Regions from separate parts of the Homo sapiens genome. Here all the other regions are linked to region 1. The links are contacts of gene promoters, found by promoter capture Hi-C in blood cells and fetal thymus (Javierre and others, 2016). All regions are on one chromosome and are shown on one strand. Each heading gives the region's core, a stretch centred on a gene start or on the middle of the fragment in contact. The rest is flanking DNA. Distances are from core to core; before and after follow the strand shown.

Region 1 (2,930 bases), core at 209-2,708:
CCACATAAATAAATAATCATTTTTGTAGGCAAATATAACAAATACAGCAAAACGTCATAGAATCTAGAAAGAGTATATATGCATATGTATCTATCACTTTTTCAACTTTTCTGTGTGTGAAAATTTTGGACACTGAAGTGAAAATAAACGCTTTCAAAGTCAGAATACAAAGAATTATCTATTGCAACTTCAACCCACCTGAAGCTTTGAGGCCTCTGATCAACTCACAAACCTACATTTCAAGCACTCGATGAAAAAGCCCTTTCTTAAGACGGCAAGACTTTGAGATTCATCAACTGATAAAATATAAAAGCGATACTAAAAATAATCTCTCACCTAATGTAAGTTCACCTAGAAAGTCATTTACCAGGAGGTTTCATGAGAAACTTAACTTAACTTTACTCAGTAAAAGAGCTTTTCCCTCTATTACCACTTCGCCTACGTTTTTCGTAATTCCCAACAGTAAGCTTTAACTGAAGAAGAAGAAAAAAAAAACATCCCCAGCAAGCAGATCCGGGCACCCCTCCCAGGTCCTAAAGCCTGCAAAAACCCAAAGAGTTCGTGGCGCTGGTGGCTCCAGCTGTTAGTTTCCCGGGCAGTCTCCGGGTTGGATTTGCACCCTGGGGTCTACACGGGTTAAAAACGCGGAAAAAAGGCGACGAAGAAATACAAACTGCCAGGGTGTCGAAATGAAAGGAGCGACTGTGAAAGGGGTAAGGAAAAATCCAAGCCATCTCTACGGGGAGGATCCAGAAAGCACCAGCCGCGCCAGGGGGTCAACCAACTCCGACACCGCTCGGCGTCAGCTGGGCGCCACCAGGCGCGGACTTCGGAGCGAGGGCAGGTGCGCGGGCCGGAAGCCTCGGGCGCTCACCTGGCACCTACCTGGAGCTCACCTGGCGCCCGGGCCCCGCGCCGCCGCCCCCCGCCCAGCCCGCCGCGCCCGCACCTCGCGGTCCTTGAGGCCCAGCAGGAGCACTTCCTCCATCAGGGTCAGCCGCGTTTCCTTGGAGTCGCCCTTGTCGTCGTCGTCCTGCTCGTCGCGGCGGCTCTGCGCGTCGTCCTCGCTGCTGCCGGCGCCGCCGCCCGCCGCCCGCTCCTTGTCGGCGGCGTTGCGGGAGGCCTCGGTGCGCCGCTGCACCAGGCCGGAGCTGCGCTGGGTCAGCGAGGTCATGGCTCCCGCCGAGGCGCCGAGCCGGGCCGAGAGGGTCGCAGGACCGACCGGGTCGCCCTCCTCCTCCCCGCGCGGCCTCCGATCCGGGTTTCCGTGTTAAATCCGGACGCCGGGGCGACGTCCGTCGGCAGCAGGGCCGGGGGCAGTCATGAGGAAACAGGTCAGGGCGAAGCGGGCTGGCCGGGCGTCGGCGGGGCAGGAGAGGAGCGCCTTCCTGCCTGTGGCCGCAGTCCCCGAAACACCCCGAGCTCCAAGGCGGAGGCGGCGGCGGCGCCTTTCCAATATGGCGGCCCCGGCTGACGTCACCGGAGGATGTGGCAGAGTCGGCGCGGGAGAGCTGGGCCGGGAGGCGCCGGAAGCGGCGGCCGGGGATCCGCTGCCACTGCAGCCTACACCCTTCCCGGCCCTCGGTGCTTGTCTTTTCTTTGGCGTTCCTGCGCCCCCTGACCCGCGGTCCTGCAGTCCTGCTCCCGTGACGTGCCCTCCCTCCTTCCGTTCCCCGTTTCCCCTTCACTACCCAGGGCTGGAGCCTGAACCTGGCGGGGCCCCCCGTGAATGGAAGAGCCTGGGCCACGCGAAGGTGGACCCCACTCAGCCTCCAGCCGTGCCCTCCACGCCCCAGACACCGCCGTCTTCGGAGGCGACTCCGCGGTCGTGTGGACGGGGTCCCATTTGGACTCCGGGGTCTGCAGGATCGGCAGGAAGGACTTTGCTCTCTGCTGCTGGGCGGGGAGGGGTACGCTATCTGCCGGGACTCCCTAACCCTTTAGAAGGAGCAAGTGCGTCCAAATGGTTTGAAAGTGGACCTTTATTGTTTTCCAGGAGTAAGAAGATAGAACAGTTGACCAGTTTTGTTTGTAAAACTTCTTTCCTTGCCTCGGACTTGTGCTATAAAGTGACCAGGGCGTAGTGAGTACAGTTAGTACCGCACACGTTAGCACGCTCGACCTTAACGATCTTTTTATAGAGACAATAAACCTGCAGCGTTTCATGCCACGTCTTTGTACGCATCGGATGTCTCTCCGTGTAGTTACTAGGTGAAATCCTCTTGGCGTGCGCAAATTAGGTTAAAAAAATAGCTGTCAAACCTGAGACAGGAGTTGGAGGAGTAGAGGGTGGCGCTTGTTAAGTGAAACATTTAACCAGGAATGGTATTGTGTGCCATCCTGTATTAAACAATGTATGGACAGAGTGGAACAACAGCAAAGCAAAAAATAAAAATTTTTTAAAAAAAGTGATCATGGGCTGTGGCTAAAGAGTGCTTTAGATGGATTCTTCTCTTCCACAAATCCATTATCCAGAACTGCTGCTGCCTACCATCCCATGCCCTGGAAAGTGACAGTGCTAAATGAAGGGAAGAGAGGGTCCAGGGGGCACACCAAGTAGACCTTCCCTTTTTCCCACCTGTCTTGGTGAAGGTCGATTTCACCTCAACCAATTTCTCCCATTCACACCCTCTTTTTTTTTTTTTTTTTTTTTTTTTTGAGACGGAGTCTTGCTCTGTTGCCCAGGCTGGGGTGCAGTGGCACAATCTCGGCTCACTGCAAGCTCTGCCTCCCGGGTTCACGCCATTCTCCTGCCTCAGCCTCCTGAGTAGCTGGACTACAGGCGCCCGCCACCACGCCTGGCTAATTTTTTGTATTTTTAGTGGAGACGGGGTTTCACCGTGTTAGCCAGGATGGTCTCGATCACCTGACCTCGTGATCCGCCGGCCTTGGCCTCCCAAAGTGCTGGGATTACAGGCGTGAGCCACCGC
Region 2 (2,930 bases), core at 110-2,609, 4.7 Mb after region 1:
ACCACCACGCCCGGCTAATTTTTTGTATTTTTAGTAGAGACGGGGTTTCACCATGTTAGCCAGGATGGTCTCTATCTCCTGACTTCGTGATCTGCCTCCCTCGGCCTCTCAAAGTGCTGGGATTACAGGCGTGAGCTACCGTGCCCGGCCAGAATCTTTTAGATTATTAAATGAAAACTAGATAAAACAGAAATACCTATACTACATATCATAGATGCTGAAATGTTGACTTTGGTGACAAAGTTACTAGTTTTTATTGGACTTTGACATGAGTTAACCCATTACTATGTTTATCAATAAGGAATAGTTCATGGTAAAGCTATTGCACTTTATTAATTTAATGTTTAAAAGTTCATAATAGCTATTTTTCATGAGTGGAAACATTTAAAAGCTTAGGCTGTTTATGCAATTCTAATAGCCCATATTCATCACAACTCGTGTGTAAAGGAAACAAATAATTAGAAGTAGTAATACTGGTGGCATTGAGGGTTTTTTGGCATTAAAATGTCTCTAGGCTGGGCGCAGTGGCTCACGCCTGTAATCTCAGCACTTTGGGAGGCCGAGGCAGGCGAGATCGCACCACTGCAGCACTCCAGCCTGGGTGACAGAGACTCTGTCTTAAACAAACAAAAAAAAATGTCTCTAGGACTGATGAGCTGTACATCTTGGATATTATCGCTGTGATTAACTGACTTGACACCAAATGCCAATTTATAAAATAATGCCAGTATAATATAGCATTATAAAAGAATATACCCTTCAAAAAGTTTAAAGTCTACTTTCTAGTACTCAAAATCAAATAATTTGCTTTTTATTTTTTATTTTTTGGCTGGAGATCGGAGTTTTATTATAACTCAAATCAGTCTCCTGGAGCATTTGGGGATCAGTTTTTAAGGATAATTTGGTGGGTGGGGGAAGGCAAGTGAATAGAGTGTGCTGATTGGTTGGGTTGGAGATGAAATCATAGGGAATTGAAGCAGTCCTCTTGCTCTGAATCAGTTCCTGGGTGGTGGCCACAAGATCAGATGAGCCAGTTTATTGATCTGGGTGGTGCCAGCTGATCCATCAAGTGCAGGGTCTGCAGAATATCTCAAGCACTGATCTTAGGAGCAGGTTAGGGAGGGTCAGAATCGTGTAGCCTCCAGCTGCATGACTATTAAACTATAATTTCTAATCTTGTGCCTAATTTGTTAGTCCTACAAAGGCAGTCTAGTCCCATAAATGATTTGCTTCTAAGTATCACTTTCTTGAAATCACTGGTGGCATACTGAATTTGTATGATTGTTCATATATCAATGAAATTAAATCTTTCAATAAAATTTAAGAAGTTTGTCTACTTCATAATGAAGATATGCTCCACGTCCTATGGAGATAGTGCTTAAGAAGTATATTTTTGAAAGGAATAAACACATGAGTAAAAGTATATATGGTATGTTTCCACAAACCTTGAAACGAGTAAGGGGCTAGACTAGCTAATTCATTTGGTTATTCAACTAAAAATGTTTGGGTCTTTACATTTATTTTGATGCAGTTAGCTAACGCTCAGCTCTTATACTTTTACTTCAAATAATATATAGATCACATCTATTCATTCAATATGCACCCATTCTATCAGGCATTTTGAAGTTCTTAGACAAAATTAAATAAACTGACATAATCACTTAGCTACTAGATTCCTCCAAACATCTCTCACAAAACAGATATTACTTTATTTGTTGTGTTTATAAACAGTAGTGGAAACAATTCTGTTCTCTAATTTTAAGCTGAAAAATCATGTCCTTATTAATTCACTGTAATAATTTTTTATTAAATTTTATCCCTTATTTCTTAGATTAAATGCACATAAATTTGATGTACAACTTTATAGTTTTAAAATGTGTCTATTTATGGCCTAATTTCAACTTTAAGTGAAAATGGAATTATTAAGAAATATTCACTGTTACATTTGGCTAGCAATTCATCATGGCATTAAGGTACTGTTTTCCATGGTTTTTCCATCTTGGGTTATAATACTGAGACATTTCACTTGTATAGTTCTGCATTCAATTTTTCTTCCAATTTATTTCCTGCAAGGTAATTCTAAGTTATAATTGTCACTGTATCCTTATTTGATACATTGGTCGCCTTTCTCTCCTTATGACTGTCTTTTTGGTAAACTCAAAAAGTGAGCAGGGGCCATACAGTTAAATTCAAAACAGGAAGTCATATGATGTTCCTTTATACTCCTACCTTTCATGATTGACTTGGCTCCCTCTGCTGGTTAGTAATATAATTCCTTTCTTAGTTCAATAGGGTATGTGTTAACATTGGTGAAATATCTGGGGTGAATAAGCTTGGAGTTAGAGCTTCTTATATGTTGATTCTCTAGCAAATTTTGTGTTTAGCTAAGGTTTTAACCAACCTAGGCCTTACTTATCTATAATGGAAAGGGACTTGGTATCACATGCCTGAAAAACAAAATTTTTATTAATGCCGTCTTAAATAGACTTGCCAACATTACAATACTGAAATCTACAAATAGCAAATAAAGTGAAAGAGTAATGAAATATTTAAATTGTATTAAAATATTTCAGTATAATATAATCCTTAACTTATTTGCTTTCTGGTTAGATACTTTTCATTCTACTCATGCAATATAATGCCTCCTTTTTAAATTCTATACACAATTTCTTCCTTCTTAAGTTTCCCCCTTTTAAATCCTATACACAAGTGTAAGTACATTTATTTAAATATATAGAATGAGTTGGATGGCAAATGAGAGTTACCTATTTAAGAACTTATTTACTTTGGCTAGAGAGAAAACACTTATTGAAAGTTTATTTTTCGGAGGGAGAAAGAAGTTTCCACCATTTTCAGGGAGTAATTTGTTCCTATGATAATTACTCTGTGAAAGATAGAAATTTGCTTTGGTCTGACTTATTAATAAACAC
Region 3 (2,930 bases), core at 288-2,787, 4.1 Mb after region 1:
TTGCTAATTACTGCTGTTTCCAAGGTGACCAAAAGATCTTGTTGGAACTCAAAAGACTTTTTTCAGTTCTTTAATTGATTGATCTTTCCAAAGAATTTGAAATGGTTATCATTTCTTCTTGAAATCTTTTACTGTCTCCCAACATACCAGTCCCTAACAGTGTTTCTCCCATCTCTATGTCCCTTTTTGACTTCTTCCTAAACCCATCTCCAAGATGTCTTCTGTCCTCGTCTCCTTGTCTCTTCTTCTCCGTCTTTTTTCCTTCTCTCTCTCTCTCTCTGTCACACACACACGCTCCTGAGTTCATTCAGTGTTGTGTAATGGAAGGATCTTGGTTCAAATCTCAGTTTTATTGTTTATTAGCTTTGTGAAACTTGAACTGGTTGTTTAACCTTCCTGAGACTACTTCTGCATTTATAAAATATAATTGCTACCTTGTAAAATTGTGAATATATGCACAGATGCTTAGCACTGTGCCCATTACACAGTAGACACTTGGCAAATATTAGCCCCTTTCATGACCTCAGCTATTACTGGCATCTTTAGCCCAGATCTTTCTCTTGAATTTCCAATCCTTATCTAGTTTCCTTTTAGATAATGTCTCTTAAATCTTACACATGTAACACACATTCGTGGAGATTAAATTAAATTTGAGTGTCACTGTAGGCCAGGCATCCTGCTAGGTGCTACAGATGAAATGATAAAAAGCTTCCATGCCCTTGAGGAGCCTAAAGTCTATGCAGTGATAGAGTTATACACAGAATGCTGAGAAATTTGGAGGAGCAAGTCTCAAGTCAACCTAACAAGAGTTAGAGAAGGCTTTTTGGGAATGTGAAGAGCTAAGCCTTAAGTAATGAATTCAATATTAGCCATTATCAGCAAGAATGAGAAGGAAATTCCACAGAAGAAACACCATGAACAAATGCATAGAAGCAATGAACTAGCAATTTTGAAATTTTAGAGAATTTAGAGAGAGGCAGGCAACATGGGGAAGTGAGGCTAGAGAGGTAGACAAGGGTAAAGACAATGGAAAATGTTAAATCCATGCTTAGGAACCTGCCTTTTATCCTGCATATATTAGGAGGCAACCAAAAGGAGAAAATGACATGATTAGCTTTGCAAAAATTGTGAATTTTTTTTTTTTTGAGATGGAGTTTCGCTCTGTCGTCCATACTGGAGTGCAGTGGTGCAATCTCAGCTCACTGCAACCTCCGCCTCCCGAGTTCAAGGGATTCTCCTGCCTCAGCCTCCAGAGTAGCTGGGACTACAGGTGCGTGCCACCAGGCCTGGCTAATTTTTTGTATTTTTAGTAGAGACAGGGTTTCACCATCTTAGCCAGAATGGTCTCGATCTCCTGACCTCATGATCCACCCACCTCGGCCTCTCAAAGTGCTGGGATTACAGGTGTGAGCCACTGTGCCCAGGCGTGAGCAGGAATTTTTTAGAAGAAACACAAACAGTGAATAAATACTTGAAAAGATAACCTTATTGGAAATTAGAGAAATACAAATAATGTCATTGTGAAATAATATTTTATATCCACTAGATTGGTAGAAATTAAGAAATCTTGGTAACACTCTGTTAGAAAACTTATCCATATCAAGTCTTGATTAGGCTAAACATTAGCTAATCATTTCAATAATTCTTCCTTCCAGTGCCATAGTTTACAAATATCTTTTTTTTTTTTTTTTCCTGAGACAGGGTCTTACTCTATCCCCTAGGCTGGAGTGCAGTGGCACTGCACCGCATGGCTCACACAGCTGCAACCTCCCAGGCTCAGGCAATCCTCCTACCTCAGCCTCCCAGGTAGCTGGGATTACAGATGCGTGTCACCATGCCCTGCTAATTTTTTTTTTTTTTTGAGATGGAGTCTCGCTCTGTCACCCTGGCTGGAGTGCAGTGGCACCATCTCGACTTACTGCAACCTCCGCCTCCCGGTTTAAGCAATTCTCGCCTCAGCCTCTCGAGTAGCTGGGATTACAGGTGCATGCCACAACGCCTGGCTAATTTTTGTATATTTAGTAGAGACGGGGTTTCACCATCCTGGCCAGGCTGGTCCTGAGAACTCCTGACCTCATGATCCGCCTGCCTCGGCCTCCCAAAGTGCTGGGATTACAGGCGTGAGCCACCACGCCCAGCCACCCTGCTAATTTTTAGAAATTTTTGTAGAAATGGGGTGTTGTGCAATGTTCCCCGGGCTGGTCCTGAACTCCTGGGCTCAGGCAATCCGCCGACCTCACCCTCCCAAACAAAACTGCTGGCATTCATGGATTTTTGAGTTTTAAACTCAGACTCCATCTATGGTGAGGCTGGTGTGCTTTTCTAGTAAATGAGTCTAGCCAACCATGTGATAGCCATATCTCAAGCAAGCTTAACTGTTCTCAACATTTTATGGGGAAAATTATATATCACTGTGGTATTCACAACTTGAAGATTTACAGAGGTTTTAAAATATATCCTTCCCAACCCCCAGAACCCTTCCCACCCCCACTTCATGTTCATTCTGACTCTATGAAAGACATATATACCTCTTTTTATGACATTCAAATACTCTAAGACCTGTATAGCAGGGGTCCACCACCCCCGAGCTGTGGACCAGTATCGGTCCCTGGCCTATTAGGAACCGGGCCACACAGCAGGAGAGGAGCGGCAGGCAAGGGGGTGAAGCTTCATCTGTATTTACAGTTGCTTCCCATAATTTGCGTTACTGCCTGAGCTCTGCCTGCTGTCAGATCAGAGGCAGCATTAGATTCTCATAGGATGCAAACACTACTGTAAACTGCTCATGCAAGGCACCTAGGTTGCACGCTCCGTATGAGACTCTAATGCCTGATGATCTGAGGTGGAACAGCTTCATCCCAAAACCACCCCCACCCTACCCACCCCCTAGCCTGTGGAAAAATTGTCTTCCACAAAACCAGTCCCTGGTG
Region 4 (2,930 bases), core at 305-2,804, 4.0 Mb after region 1:
ACATATTTAAAGATTTCAGGTATGAGAGAGTTCAGTTTAGGACACAGACTACTGCAAGAGACTATTACTCCCACTCGAAAAATGAAAAAAAAAAAAAAACCATCATAATATTTTTTAAAGGTACCTAAGAGCTGAGTTGGCGAACCAACCAGGTAACCTGAATTCCAAAATGTGACAAGCCCCTGAGGACAGTGGCATACTGTCCTGCTTTACCTTTTGCAAGGCATGAAGAGAAGAGGTAGCAATCATGTAAGCATATAAGAAAAAAGAACTAAAATTTTACTGAATTCTTAAAGATTTCATACATAGAAATTGCAAGACATTTTGATAGAGAATAATCTGTAAAGTCCTTCCTAATAATAAAATAATTTCAAAAAACGAATAGCTAACATTTAGAATGTGTTCACTAAATTTTAAGCATTGTATTAATACTAGTACCTGCCAAGCTTTATCAAATTAGACCTCACAACCTAGTAAGAAAGGGCTGTTCGTTTCCTTGCTTAACAGAAAAAAAACAGTGCAGAGAGGTTAAGTAACTTGTCCAAGTTAACAGAGCTGGTGAATGGTAAAGCTGGGATTCAAATAGAGGCATCTTTACTACAGAGCCTGGATCATAATTACATGTCTCTTCTCTAATCTAGACATAGTTTCTTAATGCAATTTAAATTGCTTAATGATTTATTTTGTTCAGTCTTCACAGGGAACAAATTAGAAACTTTCTCCCATTTCTTTTAGATATATCAGGACAGAATGCTTAGTCATGTTTAATAAAGAATTTAACGCAAACTTTTTACATTACAGATTATACTACTATTACTTGATTTAAGGGTAATATATGACTGTACTCTACATGGGAAAAGTGGAAAACATAGAGTAAATTAGAATCCGTTTGTTCTTGCCCCAAGCTGCCTATCTTAGAGCATTAAATTACAATGAATTAAAGATCTACTTAGTTCCAAGCACCATTCATTCATTTAGCAAATATTTACTGAACGCCTACTATATGGTGAGCTCTGTTCAAGGGGCTGGAGATAGAAAAATCCAAGCAAAGTCCCTGCCCTTAAAAAGTCTAGTGGGAAGAAACAGGCAATTAAAAAAAATACATTAGGGGGTGATAAGGGTTATGTAAACAGGTAGCTGCCACCACCACAGAGACTATCAGTTCTGGAAATACATTATTCAAGATTAGTTTGGCTACACATAACAGAAAAGTCCAATATAGTACAGACTTATACAATGCAGAATTTATTTCTCGTGTAAGTCTTGAGATAGGTGGTTATGGCAAGTTAGCAGATTATCAGAGGCCCAGGCCCCTTCTATAGTCCACATCCTTAGCAGGTGGCTTTAATCCTTATGTTCCAGGACAGATGCTGGAACTCCAGGAATCCTATCATCATCTAGACAGCAGGATGGAGAAACAAAGAAGGGTGGACCGTCTTCCTTTTAAAGAGATGTAAGAATCGGCTGGGCACGGAGGCTCACGCCTGTAATCTCAGCACTTTAGGAGGCTGAGGTGGGTGGATCATCTGAGGTCGGGAGTTCGAGACCAGCCTGACCAACATGCAGAAACCCCGTCTCCACTAAAAATACAAAATTAGCCAGGCGTGGTGGCGCATGCCTGTAATCCCAGCTACTCAGGAAGGCTGAGGCAGGGGAATTGCTTGAACATGGGAGGTGGAGGTTATGGTGAGCCGAGATTGCGCCATTGCACTCCAGCCTGGGCAATAAGAGTGAAATTTCTTCTCAAAAAATAAAAATAAAATTAATCAGAAAAAATAAGATACATCAGTAGCAATCACAATGCAGTTCTTTATGACCAGATAGCAACCTCTATGTACCTACTAATCTCGTCTTCAATGGACACAATTCCTTACGTTAAAAAGAATCTAATGTACCAATTTAAACTTGCATTTATTATATTAAGGCAATAGTCATGATTAGAAGGAAGGCAAAAAAAAATTATTCCCATATTAGGAAGATGAAGTATGTCTGTTACCGGGGCAAACTATCAAACTGAATTTCAAAACTGACAGGCTCTCCCTGAAGTCCTAGAGAGGATCTTGTGTTCACTAATTCAGATGTTGCAAGTATTCTAGTTCCCAGGTAACTCCTAGTAAAACCAAGACTGAACAAAGATATTTCTCATCTTTAAATTTAGAATCATCTCATCGATTAAACCTTCCTATCTATGAGATCTATATCTGAAGTGGGCTCTCCCAATTATTTTACATCTCAAAACTGTTTATTCTCATTATGGCATCTTAAATATTTTTGTTTATTCTTTCTCCTCCATTAGCTTACAGGCTCTCTCTGTTTTGTTCCCTTTCCTGAAGGAAACTATAATTTTTTGTGTCAAAAATATTTTCTCCTATGAGTTGCAATCTTCAGGGAAAGGACGTAGCTTCAAACAAAGGCAAATGCTTTCTCCTTAGCCAAAGTAACATAAAGGTCACTTTCTGTAAAACATCAGGATATTGCATTTTAAAATGCTTTCCATATAACATTAGTTTGATGAACGGCTTAGCCTAGGATTCTGCACCTAGTTCCAATCAAAACCAAGTTGTGAACAGATCCCTTCTTTACACCAATCTCATCTTTCAAGAACGAGCTAAAGGTTCATGAATTCCTTCCTCAAGAGGCAGTTACTTTTCAAGCTAAGGACCAAGCTTGAAACAAGCATATACCTGCACAAGGGAGGTTTAATTTCACTACAGAGCGAATCATTTTTTCAAGGAAACCAGAGGGTGTGTCATACAGCATCACTGAATATTCTAATATGCGATGAAGCTGTTATGCTTCCTTATGAACTTTATAAATCTTCATTTTTATGAGGCTTAGAATTCATCCCCCTTCCCTCTTCCACTGTTTTCCCGGGGTCACAGTTGTAGTATAGTTTGCCCAATGGATTTCGCATGGTCATTGTACCTGGA

What was found. The method cuts DNA at HindIII sites, captures the fragments that hold promoters and counts their contacts. A CHiCAGO score of 5 or more calls a contact.
Region 2: a contact is called between a fragment that was not itself captured here and the fragment with the promoter of GOLPH3 in region 1, in 1 of 17 cell types (total CD8 T cells). The highest score is 6.2, in total CD8 T cells.
Region 3: a contact is called between a fragment that was not itself captured here and the fragment with the promoter of GOLPH3 in region 1, in 1 of 17 cell types (total CD8 T cells). The highest score is 5.9, in total CD8 T cells.
Region 4: a fragment that was not itself captured here is called in contact with the fragment with the promoter of GOLPH3 in region 1 in 5 of 17 cell types (total CD4 T cells, non-activated CD4 T cells, total CD8 T cells and 2 more); the score reaches 6.6 in total CD4 T cells.

What each region holds. Positions count from the first base shown.
Region 1 is chr5:32,172,861-32,175,790 of GRCh38, forward strand. GOLPH3 (golgi phosphoprotein 3) reads right to left here and starts at 1,459. Exons shown (of 4, transcript NM_022130.4): 1 at 950-1,459. The coding sequence starts at 1,174. RefSeq lists a silencer at 743-1,352. The HindIII fragment of the contact is 5,568 bases long and covers 466-2,930 here.
Region 2 is chr5:36,868,386-36,871,315 of GRCh38, forward strand. No RefSeq gene overlaps it. Among named protein-coding and RNA genes, the nearest start is that of NIPBL-DT, 6.8 kb to the right of the region's middle. The HindIII fragment of the contact is 1,941 bases long and covers 390-2,330 here.
Region 3 is chr5:36,243,893-36,246,822 of GRCh38, forward strand. The region is part of intron 1 of LOC124900962 (a long non-coding RNA gene); the gene reads left to right. Among named protein-coding and RNA genes, the nearest start is that of NADK2, 3.4 kb to the left of the region's middle. The HindIII fragment of the contact is 1,662 bases long and covers 707-2,368 here.
Region 4 is chr5:36,148,163-36,151,092 of GRCh38, forward strand. All of the region lies in intron 1 of LMBRD2 (LMBR1 domain containing 2), which reads right to left. Among named protein-coding and RNA genes, the nearest start is that of MIR580, 1.6 kb to the left of the region's middle. The HindIII fragment of the contact is 2,220 bases long and covers 445-2,664 here.